Linked DNA regions of Homo sapiens: regions 2, 3, 4, 5 and 6 are each linked to region 1. Evidence: promoter capture Hi-C in 16 types of primary human blood cells and fetal thymus (Javierre and others, 2016). All regions are on one chromosome and are shown on one strand. The core of a region is centred on a gene start or on the middle of the fragment in contact, and the rest is flanking DNA. Distances in the headings are between cores, read along the strand shown.

What was found. The method cuts DNA at HindIII sites, captures the fragments that hold promoters and counts their contacts. A CHiCAGO score of 5 or more calls a contact.
Region 2: a fragment that was not itself captured here is called in contact with the fragment with the promoter of CALML3 in region 1 in 1 of 17 cell types (erythroblasts); the score reaches 5.2 in erythroblasts.
Region 3: a contact is called between a fragment that was not itself captured here and the fragment with the promoter of CALML3 in region 1, in 2 of 17 cell types (M1 macrophages and M0 macrophages). The highest score is 8.0, in M1 macrophages.
Region 4: a fragment that was not itself captured here is called in contact with the fragment with the promoter of CALML3 in region 1 in 3 of 17 cell types (M1 macrophages, total CD4 T cells and M0 macrophages); the score reaches 7.1 in M1 macrophages.
Region 5: a contact is called between a fragment that was not itself captured here and the fragment with the promoter of CALML3 in region 1, in 1 of 17 cell types (M1 macrophages). The highest score is 5.5, in M1 macrophages.
Region 6: a fragment that was not itself captured here is called in contact with the fragment with the promoter of CALML3 in region 1 in 1 of 17 cell types (M1 macrophages); the score reaches 5.9 in M1 macrophages.

Annotation. Positions count from the first base shown.
Region 1 is chr10:5,523,467-5,526,745 of GRCh38, forward strand. It overlaps CALML3 (calmodulin like 3), which reads left to right and starts at 1,495. Exons shown (of 1, transcript NM_005185.4): 1 at 1,495-3,279. The coding sequence starts at 1,620. The coding sequence ends at 2,069. CALML3-AS1 (CALML3 antisense RNA 1) reads right to left here and starts at 2,780. Exons shown (of 3, transcript NR_120497.1): 1 at 2,667-2,780. RefSeq lists enhancers at 1,800-2,499, 2,500-3,200. The HindIII fragment of the contact is 11,209 bases long and covers 1-3,279 here.
Region 2 is chr10:4,801,202-4,804,480 of GRCh38, forward strand. No RefSeq gene overlaps it. Among named protein-coding and RNA genes, the nearest start is that of AKR1E2, 23 kb to the right of the region's middle. The HindIII fragment of the contact is 3,618 bases long and covers 1-3,279 here.
Region 3 is chr10:4,828,806-4,832,084 of GRCh38, forward strand. AKR1E2 (aldo-keto reductase family 1 member E2) reads left to right here. Exons shown (of 10, transcript NM_001040177.3): 2 at 1,870-2,037. Among named protein-coding and RNA genes, the nearest start is that of AKR1E2, 4.2 kb to the left of the region's middle. The HindIII fragment of the contact is 1,677 bases long and covers 832-2,508 here.
Region 4 is chr10:4,852,262-4,855,540 of GRCh38, forward strand. It overlaps a transcript of AKR1E2 not described here. Among named protein-coding and RNA genes, the nearest start is that of AKR1E2, 28 kb to the left of the region's middle. The HindIII fragment of the contact is 5,440 bases long and covers 1-3,279 here.
Region 5 is chr10:4,896,267-4,899,545 of GRCh38, forward strand. It overlaps the pseudogene AKR1C6P. Among named protein-coding and RNA genes, the nearest start is that of AKR1C1, 66 kb to the right of the region's middle. The HindIII fragment of the contact is 9,579 bases long and covers 1-3,279 here.
Region 6 is chr10:4,914,663-4,917,941 of GRCh38, forward strand. It overlaps the pseudogene AKR1C6P. Among named protein-coding and RNA genes, the nearest start is that of AKR1C1, 47 kb to the right of the region's middle. The HindIII fragment of the contact is 655 bases long and covers 1,438-2,092 here.

The sequences.
Region 1 (3,279 bases), core at 245-2,744:
CTCTTCTAAGGAAAAGATTCCATGGGGATGGAGGGATTCTTCAACCTTCCTGCTTCCTCCTGCCCAAACCCTCAGGACACAGGCTTTGTGGGAGCCCTCAGGTAGGAAGGAAGGTGTCTTGCAGGTGGCTTCAATTTTCCCCCTACCACAGACCCCCTCCAGACCAGAAGGACACACTTGCCTCTACTTGAATAGAGAAGGGAAGGAAAATCAGAGAGAAAAAAAATGAATATCCGAGCCCTTCTCCTGCCATAGTCTCTCCTCGGCAAGTCCAGGTCCTCAAAAGGACACTTTCTTTCCCTTTCCGGTCTCTACCCCACCCCCACACACCCAGCAAAAAATAGAGTGGGCTCCATGTTTCTCCCCCAGTGTGGATTTCTTGGATTCCCACAGGTGAAGCGCCTGCTCCTGCCTCTCTGGGGGTCATGTCTCCAGGCCCCCTGGGAGTGGGAGCCGAGTCTGTGCTGTGAACACCCCACTATCCCCCTAAGCGGGTCTCCTCTGGGAGAGGCCGCTCCACAGCCCCAGCTCCATGCTGCCCGGAGCTCCTGGGGCAATGTGGACCAGAGAATGATAGTGGGACTTCCTGGCTGAGCCCTTCAAGGTCTCCTTTGTCTCTCCTCCTTGTCCCCTCCCTCACAGGCCTGCAGCCCCACTGATCATCTTCCAGCCCTTGGCCCTGCCATGGCCACTCCGGCCTAGACAGCTGCTTCTCAGCAGGAGGTCTGTCCTTGACCAGGCTGAAAGGTGACCTCGGGGTCCTGTCCATCACCACCTTGTATGTCCATCAGCATTTATCAATAATCCCTAGTCACCTTGTTTGCATTCCTCGATCAGTTGACCTGCAAACTAGCTGTCTTGCTAGTTAACCTCACGAGGACTGGGGGTGGCTTGCCGGTCCCACTGTGTTCCCAGCTTCCAGAGTGACACTGCACCTAGTAGGCACTCAAATATCTGTGAAAGGGTGGATGAGTGAATGGGTTGGAGGAAACCCCTCCCTATTCATGTCCATTCTGAAGATAAGAAAACTCGCTGCTTCTACCTGAAGGGAAAACCTTCCTCCTCCAAAAACCCTCCTGTTCTATATGAGGCTTTAGAAACCAAAGGCAAGGACGTTTCTTTCATCTGCCTTTCATCCTGCAAAAAGCCCTCCACTCAAGGGAAGAAAGGGCACTGGAGTTTATTGAGTGGGAGACAGGCGGCAGGTGGGAGACGGGGAGGGAGGAGAGAAAGGGAAATTCAGGAGGAAGGAGTCCAGCGTGGATTGCTCCAAAGCTCACCCACCACGCCCTGACTGCAGGTGTGATTCGGGGCCCCCGTGGCTCTGCTGGGTCCAGGTGCAAGCAGGCACAGAGGTGCTGGCGTCAGCTCGATTCGCAGGCCCTGGACTCCTGTCTAAACAGGACAGGCCCGGGCAACCGCAGGGCAGGGGCGTCTGCCAATGATGGGGGAGGACTCTGCTGCTTCTTAAGCTCCAGCGTCTCAAGCCAGGGCGAGACAGCCCGCCGGCCGCCCGGATCTCCACCTGCCACCCCAGAGCTGGGACAGCAGCCGGGCTGCGGCACTGGGAGGGAGACCCCACAGTGGCCTCTTCTGCCACCCACGCCCCCACCCCTGGCATGGCCGACCAGCTGACTGAGGAGCAGGTCACAGAATTCAAGGAGGCCTTCTCCCTGTTTGACAAGGATGGGGACGGCTGCATCACCACCCGCGAGCTGGGCACGGTCATGCGGTCCCTGGGCCAGAACCCCACGGAGGCCGAGCTGCGGGACATGATGAGTGAGATCGACCGGGACGGCAACGGCACCGTGGACTTCCCCGAGTTCCTGGGCATGATGGCCAGGAAGATGAAGGACACGGACAACGAGGAGGAGATCCGCGAGGCCTTCCGCGTGTTCGACAAGGACGGCAACGGCTTCGTCAGCGCCGCCGAGCTGCGACACGTCATGACCCGGCTGGGGGAGAAGCTGAGTGACGAGGAGGTGGACGAGATGATCCGGGCCGCGGACACGGACGGAGACGGACAGGTGAACTACGAGGAGTTTGTCCGTGTGCTGGTGTCCAAGTGAGGCCGGCGCCCACCATGCTCCTGGGCGCCCACGCGGCCCACAGGGCAAGAACCCGGGGCCTCCCGCCTCCTCCCCCATCCCCCTGCCTCCCCTGGGCACTGTGGCTTCCTCCTGCGCCTGGTTGATTCAGCCCACCTCTCTGCATCCCGCTTCCCGCGTCTCTTCTCTGCACTCCTGCCGACCTTCCCACCTGCTCGTCTGAATGACACGGAACGCTCCCACTGCAGGCAAACCGTGACGCCCTCCCCACTCGGGAGAAGCAGAGCTGACCTTAGGACCGAGCACCAGGGCAGGTTGCGCTGACTCTGCGGCCCTCCAGGACGGACACCGGGTGACCCCTTAGGGCACCCAGGCAAGATCCCTAAGAGGCACCCAATGCCCAGGCCAGGGGGGCTGCAGCCCTCAGCCCCCGCCAGGATTCCCGCAGGCTCCTGGACTGGAAGCTCCCTCCGCGGTCGGATTCTGGAGGGTGGGAGGCATCTTGGCCTGCAGTAAGCGGTGCTGACGGGGACTCTGGCCACAGAGGTCAGGCCTCCTGAAAACAGCACTGCCTTCCGCGCTGCCCCAGCTTGCCCCATTCCTTGTCCGCCAACCCACCGTGATTCATCTTCTGAAGCTGGGAGTGAAACTGGGTCAGCTGTAACCTGTTCCTATTCATCTGGAAGGAGGGAGGCTTGGATGAGCAGGGGATGAGAGCTGCAGGGAAATAAATGAGATATTCGTCCTTATTTCATTTCCTTTTTTTTTTTGGTTTCCATGGAAATGATCCTTGTTAAATTCAGGGTTGAAACGAGGCAGGAATCTCCATTTTTGTGCTTTTTGAAAATGCAATGAATTCCTATACGGGGGAGCGGGAAAGGTGCCTCAGAGAGAGACAAGTCTGGATGAGGGAAATATTGAATATTCTCAATCAAATGGATACGCTGGCAGCAAAGAGTGGTTAAAAGTCCATCAGGACTTGAAAGACCTGAGTCCATTACGTTGAGAAGGGACCTGCTGATTGCTTTGATTCCCCCTGGCAAGTGCTCCCTGGTTGTGAAGTGCCAGGCACTAGAGATGGTGAGGGGTTGGGGGGCAGTTGGGCACACACAGTGTAAGAGCAATTCAGAGCCGTTAGTCCTGCACTAGCCCTGCAAGCTGCTGGCAACACCTAGAGAAGGTCGAAGGGGCCCTGCCAGAGATCCCTTCAATTCTAAAGGGAGGTATGTTT
Region 2 (3,279 bases), core at 340-2,839, 720 kb before region 1:
CTGTCACCTTCACAGTGATTTTACACATAATGGATGTGCAGTTGGGTGTGTCTTAGTATTTAAATACTAAAATCATATCATTTTATCTTAAATTATCTTCCTTTTGTTTCTCCTTTACATTACAGTCAGGGCAGTATGTTGACTTTCAAACATTGTTTGTGTGGTTATATAACATTATCAGATTTTCTATCAGATCATGAAGCGGGGGTGTTGGGCACCCTTGCATTGAAAGCTCTGTTCTGATTTCACAACTCCTGGATCCACTCTCCAAGCCCAAACCCCTTCCTGAGAAACATTCTAGGTATAACTGATGAACCTGAGATGTCATGAGAGCAGGGCAAGGCCAACAGGATGCTCTCTTCCTGGAATGTGGATTTGGATTTCAAACTCTAACGAGTGTCTGTAAGCCGCTTAACTGGTGTCCTGCAGGCAGGGCTGAGGAGAGTTTGGGTTGTTTTGACTCATGCACACCCAAAATCAGAACATGTTTGTTTGCAAGGAGAGAAAAGAACAAAGCAGAAGAGAGACACAGAGATGAGAGGTTTGTCACCTTGGGTCACAGCGAGCCTGTGGCATGGTTCCCTGGGAGGCCCTGCTGCCCCTCTGCCTTCCCTTAGGTGCCTCAGATCTGTACCACAGCCCTTGGTGCTGCATTCTGCCAGCTCAGAGGGGTTTTGTTAATTGCAACCAAAAAGACTTGCTTAAGTATTTTAATTTCCACTTCCTAGTGGTTTTAATTAATAGTTGTTAGATGAATTAATGTAAAAACAAATGAATAAAGTAACCGCTTTAGATGAATTTTAAAAATTTTATTAAAAACATGAATATTATTTCTTCAACTAATTATCTACATCAGTGTTTTTTATGATTTCTCTCCAATTCCACTCTTTCCCCCACCAAAAAAGAGACAGTTGTCTTTCAGACACTCTTAGGATTACCTCATCCAAAATATTTGTTTTAAATGAAAAGACTTGATTTGTGAGGGGGATGTGTATATATGTGTGTGTGTGTGTGTGTGTGTGTGTGTGTATGTAGCAGAAAAAGAGGGGAGGATAAGGTCCTTTTCTATGCAACTCTCTGAGCAAAAACAATGCAGTCCTTTAAAAAATTGTTATCTTCTAATGTTAAAATAGCTAATTCTTATTTAAAGATTTAGTTGTAAGTCTTAAAGAAAATGTTAGTCTTTTAAAGATACAAGAAGTGTTAAGGGCTTCTCCACTTTTATTGGGCTGTTGGATTGGGTATTAAAATTGAGAAATATGCCTTATAAAGTTGTTTTTAATTGTAAATAAGTTCATGCATTGTTAAATTCAATTCTTGAAATATTCTGTTTCTAAGCAAATACACAACAGTACATAGCCAGTTTGCTATAGTTTCATGTTTTAAATTTTGTGTACATTTCATGTCACATGTTTCTTAATTTTTAGATGTTTACATATCTGAGCCTATGTTATCCTTGTACAAGTTTGATGGGAAAGCAACCAACACACTGATCTTTTATTCTTATTCAATTTTTCTTTCATAGGTAATTTCTGCACTAGTTTTATTTTACCTGAATTTGATCAGATGTTTTAAATGATCCAAATTCCTAGCACTAGAAAAAATCCAGGCTTTTGTAGTTTATGTTGTTGTTGAACGAGAAGAAGACCAGACAAGTAGACACACGTTCACTAATCATAGGGGTGACTTCCTTTCCAGTGTTCAGCAAGGGATGGGGTATAAGGCAATGCCAAACTTCAACCTGCCCATCAGGTGAAAGAGTGAAGAATGTTTAATGTAGAGTTGTTCTTGAAACTAGGCCAGATGATGTCACATACTGGCTTAATTTTTTCTATTGGATGCTTAATTATTTGAGGATTCTGCAGGAAAAGTCCGGGTTGAGTTGGCTTGTTCAATACTAAAATATTTTTCTCCTGCTAAAGCACACACATTCGCTCACAGCAGTGTATATGGAACTTATAGATGTTTATTTTTACCTCTTTTTTTCTTTTCCCTTCCTTTCTTACTCTCACTACCTAAGTTCAAGGTCTGTGGACTGTGTACTTGTGGAGGAGGAGCACCAGGAAGGGGAAGGGAGGGATTCCTGCTGGCAGGAACCATGGAGAGCACATCCCTACCTAACCCTGCAGAAAAGTAGCCACAGCTCAAGGAGGTCTCTCATGTAGATCTATAGAGTAGCCCGTGCAAAATAGCATCTTTCATCACAGAGTGACTGACTTTTAACAAAGCAATAAAGCTAAGCCTCTTTGGCCCATCTACCAGAATGAGGACACTGCGTTGTTAAGAAATCACTCAATTAAAATAATATTTGTCGAAATTGTACTTGACCTGTAATCAAGAGCGACATTTGACACCTTAGTGCAGCTTCTCAAATGTTACTTATTATGACTTGGAAGGGTAACAATAAACAAAAACAACACAACAAATAAATACAACAAGAGGCAAATCACACTTCCCTTTGGTTTCAGAATCTACAATGACTGCTTGAACATTTGCCTAGTTTAGGAATATGTCTTTGTCTCAGGATTTTAGGGGTGCAGAAAGGAATGAGAGTATATGGAGCCCACCTTTTCTGAACTAGCTTTCCCAGTAGCCTGGAAACAGAAGGATTTTCTTGCTTGGTAGAGAGTATTGAACCCTGTCCTTCTGTGTGTCCAGGCCAATGTCTGTCGAGAGCTTGACTCTCTGTGCTGGAACTAACCTTGTCCATCTTCCCATAGTTCAGTATTGTCTTCCTCAAAATAAAGGAAATTATCTCCAACTTCTTGAAACATGCAGAATTTTGAAATGGTTTTCTTTATAAAAACGATAATATCAGCATATTTTCTAAACTGCTTGTTAGAGGTATAGAGTTGTGCAGCTTAGATTTGGCTGTTGTGTCAGACCTCTGTGTTCCAGTCCTCCTGTGGAGTGGACCTGTGACATCAGAACACACAGAGGTGGGGACTGGAATATCTCAGAGTTTCCCCAGGGGCTCCAAAGGGCTGGAAGTGTGGGTCCCACCTCCTTCCATGAGGGGCAGAAGAAATGTGTTGAAAACCAGCGATGGACAGGTGATGCATCAGGCTCTCAAGTCTCATTTCTAGATTCCATCATCCACATCAATTTTTCATCTATTACTTTTACTCATTGTAGGCTTTTAATGAGATGTAGAGAAAAATACAAGCTGAAAAGAATCAACAACATTTTACTTCAAAAGATTAAAGACATAATTACCAGTGGTTGGTAGTACGTCTATGAGGAGCAGCGAAGGCATCGCTCATCTCGGGCTTTTGAGAC
Region 3 (3,279 bases), core at 420-2,919, 690 kb before region 1:
TATTATTGGGTTCTTGATAGTGTGTTATACTACTGGAAATTATATTTCTCTGAAGTTACATTTTCTACTTGTTTCACCTGCTATATTCATTACACTTCCAGCCACTTTACTAAACTGTACTGTTATTTCTGTTAATTTGTGTTACATTTGTTTGGATTTTCTACACAAATGATCATATCATCAGCAAATAATGGTAGTTTACTTTCCTTTTTTTCCACTCTTTAAGCTTAAAATTGCTTCTTCTTAGTTGTTCAGGTGCTTCTGGAAAGCACCTCCAGCACAGTGGCCATTCTTGTTTTGTACCTGATTTTAAAGGATGTAAGATGGATATTTTTTAATATTGATACTCTTTATCAGATTAATTCTTTTCCCCGACTTACTGGGAGTTTAGATTTTGAATCTAAACTGGTATTGAATCTTAACAAATATTGATTGAGTTGACTTTTGTTTTTGTACTTTAATCTGTTAATATTGATGAATTACAGATTTTCTAATATCAAACCATCCTTAGATATCTGAGATACACTCAACATGGGTGTGGTATATTATCTTTTCATAAATATTGTTGCATCCAATTTGCTTTTATTTTACTTATGAATTTTGCAACGGTATTCATGAATAAGATGAATGTGTGACTTTTAATATTTTTGTCTGATTTTGATTCAGGGTTATGCTAGTTTTGTAGAATGAGTTGAGATAAGTCCGTCTTTTTCTGTTGTTTGAAAGTCTGTGTTAAACTGAGATGATTTTTTTCTTGAAAATTTTATGAAACTGGTGGTTTTCTCTTTTTTTTGAATTCCTTGCATTCTTTAATAATTATGTAACTATTCAAGCTTTATTCTTGGGTTAAATTTTTCTAGGAATTTTCCCATTTTATCTCATTTTTCCAAGTTATTGACATATAGTTATTGGTAATATTTTCTTTTAAGTCCATTTTATCTGCATGTTTTACTGTCCATTCGTGTCAGTTTTTTAAAAAGTTGGCCTCTTCATCAACCTAGCCAGAAGTCTGTTTATTTTACTGAAGTTTTTCAAAGAACTGACTTCTGGTTTTGTTGATCTTCTCTGTTACATCTTTGTTTTCTATTTTATTGATGTTATTCTTAATCATATTTTTATCTTTCCATCCAATTTCTTGGGTTCTTTTTCTAACTTAAGATGGATACTTGGTTCATTAGCTTTCAACCACTCTGAATCTGTTGCCTATAAAATGAAGATAATTATGCTGCTCTAACTCCTAGGGTTACCGTGAAGCTCCAGTGAGAAAGTGGTTTGTGAACTATAAAGCCCTTGTCAGTCTTCAGTTTAATGAGACTGCAAACCCGCCCACCCCCATAGTCTTCCCTAGTTCTAGTCCCTTCCCTTGCCTGAGCTTCATTTAGAGTGACTGTTCTCTTTTCTGAACTACCTTATTGCTTGTAGCATTATACATTCATTTAGGTTTTGTTATATACTTCTTTTTGTATGGATACCTTCGTGTGAGTCTACACCTCAGCCTTTATTATTGGACGCTGTGGTATCTGAGTATACAGGATAAATCTTAAGCCTCTTTGCATCTCAGTTATTATTCATTCTGTACTTTTTTATTGCTTTGATCATTCAGGAAGCATACCATCTAGCTCAGTTTTCTGCAGACACTAAAAATAACCTATAGTTTTTTTTTCCCAAAATATGTAAAGGAGTTGGAACTTAGATTATTCATAAATTCCTTCATAACTGATATTGCCTGTTTTTAGACTGATTATACTAGTACCAAATTAGTGACTTAATTTTTTATGTATTATGTTGTCCACATGCTTGGGTGAAAGGGGAGATTTGTGTTGGATTCCTCTGACTGTGAGAAGACACTTTGTTTTGTTGGTTTTGCAGGCTTCTCCAGGGAAAGTGACCGAGGCAGTGAAAGAGGCCATTGACGCAGGGTACCGGCACTTCGACTGTGCTTACTTTTACCACAATGAGAGGGAGGTTGGAGCAGGGATCCGTTGCAAGATCAAGGAAGGCGCTGTAAGACGGGAGGATCTGTTCATTGCCACTAAGGTAGGGCTTCTCTATGCAAGGCTGGCAGAGCTTGGGTAATGCTACATCTCTGGAGGGCTTTCTACTTTCTTTATGGGAGTTGATGACTTTGTTTCATACTCAAATCGGAATAAACAAGAATATTCACAGCTTCATGAGCATGCTGAATTATATTGTGTGCAGGTTTGTTTCATATTATTTACTTGGTCATTCAGGTAGGAGTACACAGATATCCCCCAATTAACAATACATTATCAAAATTCAGTTAGTGATGGGCACTTTGACTACAGTGGTGAATAGGACAAAGTCCTAGCCCTCATGAAGTCTGTTTACACAGCGATTCCTAAATTCAGAATCACTGGGGTGATTGTTAAATGCAGATTCCAAATTCTACCCCACATCTGTTGAAGGAGAAACTCTGGGTGTGGAGGAAGCAGCTTGAGCACAGGCATAAGGCAGGAAGCAGCACGGCAGGTGCAGGGGTTTGTAGGAAGCTTGGTGTATTAGTCTGTTCTCATGCTGCTGTACGAACATACCTGAGACTGGGTAGTTTATAAAGAAAAAGAGGTTTAATTGACTCACAGTTTCACATAGCTGGGGAGGCCTCACAATCATGGCAAAAGGCGAAGGAGGAACAAAGGCACGTCTTACATGGTAGCAGACAAGAGAAAGTGTACAGGGGAACTGCCGTTTATAAAACCATCAGTTGTCACGAGACTTATTCACTATCACCAGAACAGCATAGGAAAAACTTGCCCCCATGATTCAGTTACCTCCCACTGGGTCCCTCCCATGACACGTAGGGATTATGGGAGCTACAATTCAAGATGAGATTTGGCTGTGGACACAACCAAACCAAATCACTTGGTCTCTCTGGACCACACAATGTCAGGTTGCAGGAGTAATGAGAAGTGAGGCTGAGTGGTGGATAGGCTAAGCCATGGAAGTTCAGCTGTGCCCTGTCAGGAGCTGTGCTTTTACCTAGAGACAGAGGAGCCCTGTTTCATTTTTAAATAGGGCAGCTTGTATCATATGTGAGTGCAACTTGTGTTGTATATAGGATATTTTAGTAGGTGAAAGAAGCTTGCATTTGAGGCAGAGGCAGGAGGCCAGGTAGGAGACATTAACAGCAGTGCAGGTGGAAGATGATGAAGGCCTGCACTGGCACAGTGGGTGAGGGAGGGAGAAGAGGAAATGGATGTGGAGGGTATTGGGAGTCAGGACCTGTGGAAGATGCAGAGTGGACTACGATAGTGGAGAATT
Region 4 (3,279 bases), core at 211-2,710, 670 kb before region 1:
GGAAACAGCAATTTCTTGGCTAGAAAAATCAGCATCTCTAGGGGGAAGTGGAAAATTCTCAAAGAGCTGAAGAGCATGAAAAAGGCTCCTTCTCTTGTCAAGATAGATCACGGCCCTCATTAGTGAAGAAGATTCTGCAGGCACAAAGGGCCCTGAACAAATGCTGGGCAACAACAGAAACTGTGGTGCGATTAATTCTTGTAAAATAATAAGACAGAAATAGCTCCATCAATGGAAGGAGAATACCGTTAGCTAGAGACTACCCAAAGGAAGAGAATCTCTGAAATTAAGTTAGATTAAGTGGGATTGAGTTGTGACAGCTGCAGGGACAGACCTTCACCACTGTGCCACCCCACCTGGTGTCTAATGAATTTACGCTGAAGCAGGTTAGGACAGTTTGCAAGCAGAAAATACAACAGAGATGGATTGGCAAGGTCTGCTGGAATTGCTGCTGCTTTTTTATTTTCATTTTATTTTGTTGTTTTTGTTCTAAAAATATTTTATTCTTTTTTTTGGCTTACACGGCAGAAATCCATTTTCTCACAGTTTTAGAGGCTAGAAGTCTAGGGTCAAGGTGTTAACAGATTTGGTTTCTTCTGAGGCCTCTCTCCAGGACTTTTCCTTCTGTGTCCTCACATGGTCTTCCTTCTGTGTGTGTCTGTGACCTTGAGGGATATTTTAAAGCTGAAGAGATAAAAGAGGTTGTGGGGCTATGTCTTAAGACAAAAGAACATTTAGGAAACCTCAGGAAATGATCAGAGTGGGATAGATGTTACTAGAAGAAACAAAGAAATTGAATTCAATTAGGAGTTAGAATCATTTACAAAGCAATGGGGAAAGTAAGCCCCTAAAAACTATTGTAGCATATAGTAACCAGAGCCAAACTCTCATAATATATTCCCCAAGGCAAAAGAAAAATATTTACAAGATTGGCGTTGTTTTATATGTTTGCAAACTTATTTAATAAGTCTGGCTTTGTAGATTTCATATCTGAGTCTGCATTCAATCAAAATGTCTTGGCTAAACTTCATGAAAAAACCCCAGCCTCATAAATTAGTAGTTGGAAAAAGGAGGCATATTTAGAGCTTTTTCAGATAATTGTATTTCTTTGATACATTAGACTGGACACACAGTAGTTTGTTTAAGGTTAATTGCAATATTGCAATGAGGAACTTGTTGCCAAAAAAAAAAAAAAAACCAAACTCTGTAAAATATCTGAAGAGATTGATTCTAAGCCAAATATGAGAACCATGACCCATGACACAGCCTCAGGAGATCCTGAGGACATGTGCCCATTGTGGTCTGGTTACAGCTTAGTTTTATATGTTTTAGGGAGACATAAGACACCAATCCGTATAAGTGAGATAGACTTTGGTTTGGTCTGGAAACATGGAACAACTGAAAGTGGGGACAACTGTCAGAGGCATTTAAATCAGAGCAACTCCACCTTGAATAGGGGCTGAGTAAAATGAGACTGAGACCTATTGGGCTGCATTCCCAGATGGTTAAGGCATTCTAAGTCACAGGATGAGATAGGAGGTCACACAAAATACAGGTCATAAAGACCTTGCTGATAAAACAGGTTGCAATAAATCCCCCAAAACCAAGATGGCGATGAGAGTGACCTCTGGTCGTCCTCAATGCTACACTCCCACCAGCGCCATGGCAATGTCAGGGAGCTACCCTATAGGGTCTAAAAAGGGGAGGCAGAAATAATGTACTCCTTGTTTAGCATATCATCAAGAAATAACCATAAAACTGGGCAGCCAGCAGCCCTTGGGGCTGTTTTGTCTATGGAGTAGCCATTCTTTTACTCCTTTACTGTTTTTTTTTTTTTTTTTTTTTTTTTTTAGACAGAGTCATGCTCTGCTGCCAAGGCTGGAGTATAGTGGCACTATCTCAACTCACTGCAAACTCCACCTCCCGGGTTCAAGTGATTCTTCTGCCTCAGCCTCCCGAGTATCTGGGACTACAGGTGCATGCCACCACATCCAGCTAATTTTTGTATTTCTAGTAGAGATGGGGTTTCACCATATTGACCAGGCTGGTCTTTAACTCCTGACCTCATGATCTGCCCACCTTGGCCTCCCAAAGTGCTGGGATTATAGGCATGAGCCACCGCACCTGGCCTACTCCTTTACTTTCTTAATAAACTTGCTTTCACTTTACTCTGTGGACTTGCCCTGAATTCACTCGTGCGAGATCTAAGAACCCTCTCTTGGGGTCTTCTTCCAGACCCTTTGCTGTAACATCTTTCTTGTGACCACTGAAGGGACTATAGTGAGGAACCCCCCGCCCCGACCCAGAGGCTAACTTTGGGTAAGTGGTGGGTGGGGTCCAGTAACATTTTTCTCATGAACCACAAAAGGGCTGATACTGAGGAGACCTCCCACCCAAAGGAAATAGACTACAGCAGTGATCAGCGGACTTTGGGTAAGTGGGGTGTGTATACCCAGGTAAAGAATGGGATTTGGTAGCAGGCCTAACTTAGGGGAGTTAGGGTCTCTCCTAAGACAGAGTAGGTTAGAGGCCCCTCTTCATAAAAGGCAAGGACACTTGACTGACCTTGGGTTAGAGGCCCAACTAAGGAGGGTTAGAGGCCCCTCTGGGTAAAGTCTCTTTCGGCTAAGAATGGGTTTGGCACTATGGGATGTTAACTGCTATTGTCTTTGGAATAATCTGCCTTGCCCTCTTTGCTGATGGCTATGGGTGACAGGATTAGACATGTACAGGATCATGGGACATGGGGAGCTTTTTCCTCCCTAAGAAGGGAAACTTGAGAGCTGATGGGACTGCTGGAAAAGATCGCTTCATGACCACAAGTTGCCACCTGAACTTTTCAGTGTAGCTGCCTTTGGGTGGGTCTTTCTCTGTCCTCCCTGAGCACCTTGCCTTTCCCACCCTGCCTCAGGCAGTGCTTCACCATCCCTGCAAATGGGTTGAATGAATGGTAAAAATAACTGTTTATCTTCTCTTCTTTGTAAAGTGTTGATTAATGGAAAAAAGGATTTGTGAGGCTAGTCATAAGTTGGGGCAAATCTGATGTGCTTTGTGTGTCTTTCTGTATTGTTCTGTCATAAGGAGGAGTATCTTAGAATAGAATATGGGCTTAGGACAGCTATACACCTGCTGTTCAAGATGGCCAAGCAGACGTGTCAGTTATAAACTTTGCTGCAGGTCCCAGAAAAAAACCGGATGAGGTTTCCCCCTTGTCTTGTGTGTCCTTGCGAGCTTGACCTTGTAACCATGTGGCAGTACTTTCTCTTGGTTTCTGCCATC
Region 5 (3,279 bases), core at 510-3,009, 630 kb before region 1:
TTGTTGTATAAGAATGCTTGTGATTTTTGTACATTGATTTTGTATCCTGAGACTTTGCTGAAGTTGCCTGTCAGCTTAAGGAGATTTGGGGCTGAGACGATGGGGTTTTCTAGATGTACAATCATGTCATCTGCAAACAGGGACAATTTGACTTCCTCTTTTCCTAATTGAATACCCTTTATTTCCTTCTCCTGCCTGATTGCCCTGGCCAGAACTTCCAACACTATGTTGAATAGGAGTGGTGAGAGAGGGCATCCCTGTCTTGTGCCAGTTTTCAAAGGGAATGCTTCCAGTTTTTTGCCCATTCAGTATGATAATGGCTGTGGGTTTGTCATAGATAGCTCTTATTATTTTGAGATACATCCCATCAATACCTAATTTATGGAGAGTTTTTAGCATGAAGCATTGTTGAATTTTGTCAGAGGTCTTTTCTGTATCTATTGAGATAATCATGTGGTTTTTGTCATTGGTTCTGTTTATATGCTGGATTATGTTTGTTGATTTGCACATGTTGAACCAACCTTGCATCCCAGGGATGAAGCCCACTTGATCATGGTGAATAAGTTTTTTGATGTGCTGCTGGATTCATATTTTATTGAGGATTTTTGCATTGATGTTCATCAGGGATATTGGCATCATGCTACCTGACTTCAAACTATACTACAAGGCTACAGTAACCAAAACAGCATGGTACTGGTACCAAAACAGCGATATAGACCAATGGAACAGAACAGAGCCCTCAGAAATAATGCTGCATATCTACAACTATCTGATCTTTGACAAACCTGACAAAAACAAGAAATGGAGAAAGGATTCCCTATTTAATAAATGGTGCTGGGAAAACTGGCTAGCCATATGTAGAAAGCTGAAACTGGATCCCTTCCTTACACCTTATACAAAAATTAATTCAAGATGGATTAAAGACTTAAATATTAGACCTGAAACCATAAAAACCCTAGAAGAAAACCTAGGCAATACCATTCAGGACATAGGCATGGGCAAGGACTTCATGTCTAAAACACCAAAAACAATGGCAACAAAAGCCAAAATTGACAAATGGGATCTAATTAAACTAAAGAGCTTCTGCACAGCAAAAAAAAAACTACTATCAGATTGAACAGGCAACCTACAGAATGGGAGAAAATTTTTGCAATCTGCTCATCTGACAAAGGGTTAATATCCAGAATCTACAATGAACTCCAACAAATTTACAAGAAAAAAACGAACAACTCCATCAAAAAGTGGGCGAAGGATATGAACAGACACTTCTCAAAAGAAGACATTTATGCAGCCAAAAGACACATGAAAAAATGCTCATCATCACTGGCCATCAGAGAAATGCAAATCAAAACCACAATGAGATACCATCTCACACCAGTTAAAATGGCGATCATTAAAAAGTCAGGAAAAAACAGGTGCTGGAGAGGATGTGGAGAAATAGGAACACTTTTACACTGTTGGTGGGACTGTAAACTAGTTCAACCATTGTGGAAGACAGTGTGGCGATTCCTCAGGGATCTTGAACTAGAAATACCATTTGACCCAGCAATCCCATTACTGGGTAAATACCCAAAGGATTATAAAACATGCTGCTGTAAAGACACATGCGCACGTATGTTTATTGCGGCACTATTCAGAATAGCAAAGACTTGGAACCAACCCAAATGTCCAACAATGATAGACTGGATTAAGAAAATGTGGCACGTATACACCATGGAATACTATGCAGCCATAAAAAATGATGAGTTCATGTCCTTAGTAGGGACATGGGTGAAGCTGGAAACCATCATTCTCAGCAAACTATCACAAGGACAAAAAACCAAACACCGCATGTTCTCACTCATAGGTGGGAATTGAACAATGAGAACACATGGACACAGGAAAGGGAACATCACACACCGGGGCCTGTTGTGGGGTGGGGGAAGAGGGGAGGGATAGCATTAGGAGATATACCTAATGTTAAATGACGAGTAAATGGGTGCAGCACACCAACATGACACATGTATACATATGTAACTAACCTGCAGGTTGTGCACATGTACCCTAAAACTTAAAATATAATAAAAAAAAACTAAGAAAAATAAACAAACTTTATAAGATAAAGCTGGAAATAATGACAGATTAAAAAAAATCTATTCAAATCTTTTGACCATTTTTTAAATTGGATTATTACATTTTTTTCCTATAGAGTTGTTTGAGCTCCCGATGTATTTTGGTTATTAATACCTTGTCAGATGAAGAGTTTGCAAATATTGTCTCCCATTCTGTGGGGGTTTTCGCTTCACTTTGTTAATTGTTTCCTTTTCTGTGCAGAGCTTTGTAACTTATGATTCCGTTTGTCCGTTTTTGCTTTGGTTGCCTATGCTTATAGGGTATTAGTCAAGAAATTTTTGCCCAGACCAATGTCCTGAAGATTTCTCCAATGTTTTCTTGTAGTAGTTTCGTAGTTTGAGATCTTAGATTTAAACTTTTAACCCATTTTGATTTGATTTTTTTGCATATGGCAAGAGATAGGGGTCTAGTTTCATTCTTCTGCATATAGATATCCAGTTTTCCCAGCACTATTTATCGAAGAGATTGTCTTTTCCCTAGTGTATGTTCTTGGCACCTTGTTAAAAATGAGTGCACTGTAGGTGTGTAGATTTGTTTCTGGGTTCTCTGTTCTGTTCCATTGATATATGTGTCTGTTTTTATGACAATACCCTGCTGTTTTGATTACTATAGCTCTGTAGTAAAATTTGAGGTCAGGTACAAGGCTACAGTAACCAAAACAGCATGGTACTGGTACCAAAACAGATATATAGACCAATGGAACAGAACAGAGGCCTCAGAAATAACACCACACATCTACAATCATCTGATCTTTGAGAAACCTGACAAAAACAAGAAGTGGGGAAAGGATTCCCTATTTAATAAATGGTGCTGGGAAACCTGGCTATCCATATGTAGAAAGCTGAAACTGGATCCTTTCCTTATACCTTATACAAAAATTAATTCAAGATGGATTAAAGACTTAAATGTTAGACCTAAAAGCATAAAAACCCTAGAAGAAAACCTAGGCAATACCATTCAGGACATAGGCATGGGCGAGGACTTCATGACCAAAACAACACAAGCAATGGCAACAAAAGCCAAACTAGACAAATGGGATCTAATTAAACTAAAGAGCTTCTGCACAGCAAAAGAAACTACCATCAGAGTGAACAGGCAACCTACAGAATGGGAGAAAATTTTTGCAATCTACCCATCTGACAAAGGGCTAATATCCAGAATCTACAA
Region 6 (3,279 bases), core at 515-3,014, 610 kb before region 1:
TAAAATAACACTGGTGCACTTAGAGGAATTTCTATGTGCTAGACCTCACAGGACGGTGTATCAGGATCCAGTTTTGTTAAGCCATGACCAAATACTTTCTGTGTGTTGTATTTATACATACATATATATAATATATACTTTATATATGAAATATTTATATATTATAAAATTATATGTGAAATATTTAAATATTTCATATATAAATATATAATATGTAATTATATATTTGAGAAAAAATATATGTTATGAGAAATATATATATATTACACCAGAATAATTATACACCAGAATAATTACACCAGAAATAAATATATATATTTGAGAAAAAATATATATTAATATATATTATATAATATATATTATATAATATATAAATATATAATTATATATAACTATATAATATATTAATATATTAAATATATAATATATAAATATGTAAAGTATATAATATCTAAATATATATATTATAAATTCACACAGGGACAGAAAACCAAATACCACATGTCTGCACTTATAAGTGGGAGCCATTTATAGATATAAAATATATACATATTTTATATATAAAATATGTTATATATATTTCATATATATTTTATATATATAAATTTATTATATATAATTATATTTATATATTAATATTATATAATTAAATATGTATAATTATATGTATACTTATAATTATATACTATATAATTATATGTATACATATAATTATATATAAAAATATATATATATATTTTTTAAGATGGAAGTTCGCCCTTTTTTCCCAGGAGTGCAATGGTGTGATCTTGGCTCACTGCAACCTCCACCTTTCAGGTTCAAGCAATTCTCCTGCCTCAGCCTCCCAAGTAGCTGGGATTACAGGCGTGCCCTGCCACCATGCCTGGCTAATTTTTTGTATTTTTAGTAGAGATAGGGTTTCTCCATGTTGGTCAGGCTGGTCTCGATCTCCTGGCCTCAGGTGATCTGCCTTCCTCAGCCTCCCAATGTGCTGGGATTACAGGCGTGAGCCACTGCACCCAGCCTACATATATATATATATATATGTTTTTTTTTTAAAGAAATAGTTCTGTATTATATGAGCATGGGGAAAATATGGAAGTACATATTAAGCTGTTAATAAATTAGTGTGAGGAGCTGCTGAAAAGAGTGACATGGAAAGGAAAGGGCATAAGGAGATCTGAAGAGAAAGAAAAAAGTTCAGCTACACAGCATGTATATATCCATGCGACTGAGGACAAATAATTGAAAGAAAAAGTAAAAAGCAGAACATGGTTGCATTTATGCATTTATTTAAAATTACATAATTATAATTTATATCCTTTATATAGAAATAATTAAACAAGTTTAGCAAGTAATTTCAAATTACAAAGAAAGCCCTAAGAAAGCACTCAATATAATCACTTAAAAGACCAAAAAGTATGCATGATAATTTAAAGCTTAGTAACTGGGAATGGTCCCATATTGAGACAGGAATATTTCCTGACATCCAGAGAATTGTTTCCTATAAATAAAGATTTTGGTGCTTACCTCTAAGTGATGTCTAGGACATGTCCAATCATGAATAGAAAAACACTGAACTTCACAGCGGGTGTAAAGGGAGAAACCATTGCCCTTTAGACATTGGAAAAGTTCTTATGTTCTTGCTTGCCTTGTGATCTTTTATTGTGAAACTTGCAAAATAAATTGATCTTGGCTGTTACCTGCTCTTTTATATTTAACCCTCCCTCCTATGCTACAGTTAAAGTCACAGACCAAATTATTTATCATAATCAAAGCAGAAGTGGGTCAAGCACAGATTTAATAACTATTTAATAGAATTTAATATTGATTTAATAGATATTAAATTTAAATTTAATATCGATTTAATAGAATATTTAATAGAAAAATAATAACAATAACATATCCCTAAGGACCCTCAGGCAAACAGTAGCCCTTCCTGAAATGTGAGAACCTGGCCGGCCATGTGCTTGTCTTTCAGAAAAGTGTCTGAATCTGATATGAAAATTCAGAAGTTATTCATACAATATATTCTCATTGGAAAACTTGAACCATTTGGCCCAACAATCCCATTACTGGCTGTACACCCAGAAGCTTATACATCATTGTGTTATAAAGACGTGTGCCTGTGTATGTTTATTGCGGCACATTCACAATAGCAAAGCCGTAGAATCCACCTGAATGCCCGTGCATGACAGACTGGAGAAAGAAAATCTGGTCCGTATACAACACGAAATGCTGTGCAGCCGTAAAAAAGAACAAGATCGTGTCCACTGCAGGGACATGGATGGAACTGGAGGCCGTTATCTTTAGAAAATTAACACAGGGACAGAAAACCAAGTACCACATGTCCGCACTTATAAGTGGGAGCTAAATGATGAGAACACATGGACCCAGAGAGGGGAACAACACACACTGGGGCCTTTCGGAGGGCGGAGGATAGGAGGAGGGAATCAGGAAAAATAACTGATGGGTACTAGGCTTAATACCTGCGCGATGAAATAATCTGTACAACAAACCTCCATGACACAAGTTTACCTGTGTAGCAAAACTGCACTTGTACCCCTGAACTTAAAATAAAAGTTAAAAAAAGAATTATCTTAATATAGATACAATAAGTTGTCATTTCTAGAATTAAAAACATGTATCTTAGTATGAATCAAGTGCGTAAATGGTAGGAAAATGTTATTTTATTGGCTAATTTTTCATCCCTGACCTCTAAGAGGAGCGAGTCCTCTGAAGAGTGTTGACTCTCTTTTTCTCTCTCTTCCCTCCCTCCATAAATATGGCAATGGGTGTGGAAGGCTGGGATGAAGCATTGTCGGACTCCTCAGGCCTTGCGAGGCTCTCTTTAGGGAAATAGGTAGAGGACTTAGACTCCGGCGTTACTGGAGTCGGTGAACCACAGTTACTCAGTGATTGCCCATCAAGATTGTTCCATCAGTCTTGGATTCTATTAGGTAATATTTTTATTTAGAATTATGCATTTAGGTTCATCAGTGTAATTGAGCTATAGTTATAGTTTTCCTTTTTTATTTTTCAGGTTTATCATCAGTTATGCTAGCCTCATAAAATAAATTGAGAGTTTTCTGTATTTTTCCCACAGACTGAAGTACCTTACATAAATTTGAAACTCTTTTTTCTCAAAATGTTTAGTCTTAGGAACACTTTACACTCTTAAAAATCATTGAGGACCTCCAAAGCTTGAGTTTATATGTCCTACATCCATTGATATGCACCAAATTAGAAATTTAAACTAAAAAAATTTAAAATATTTAT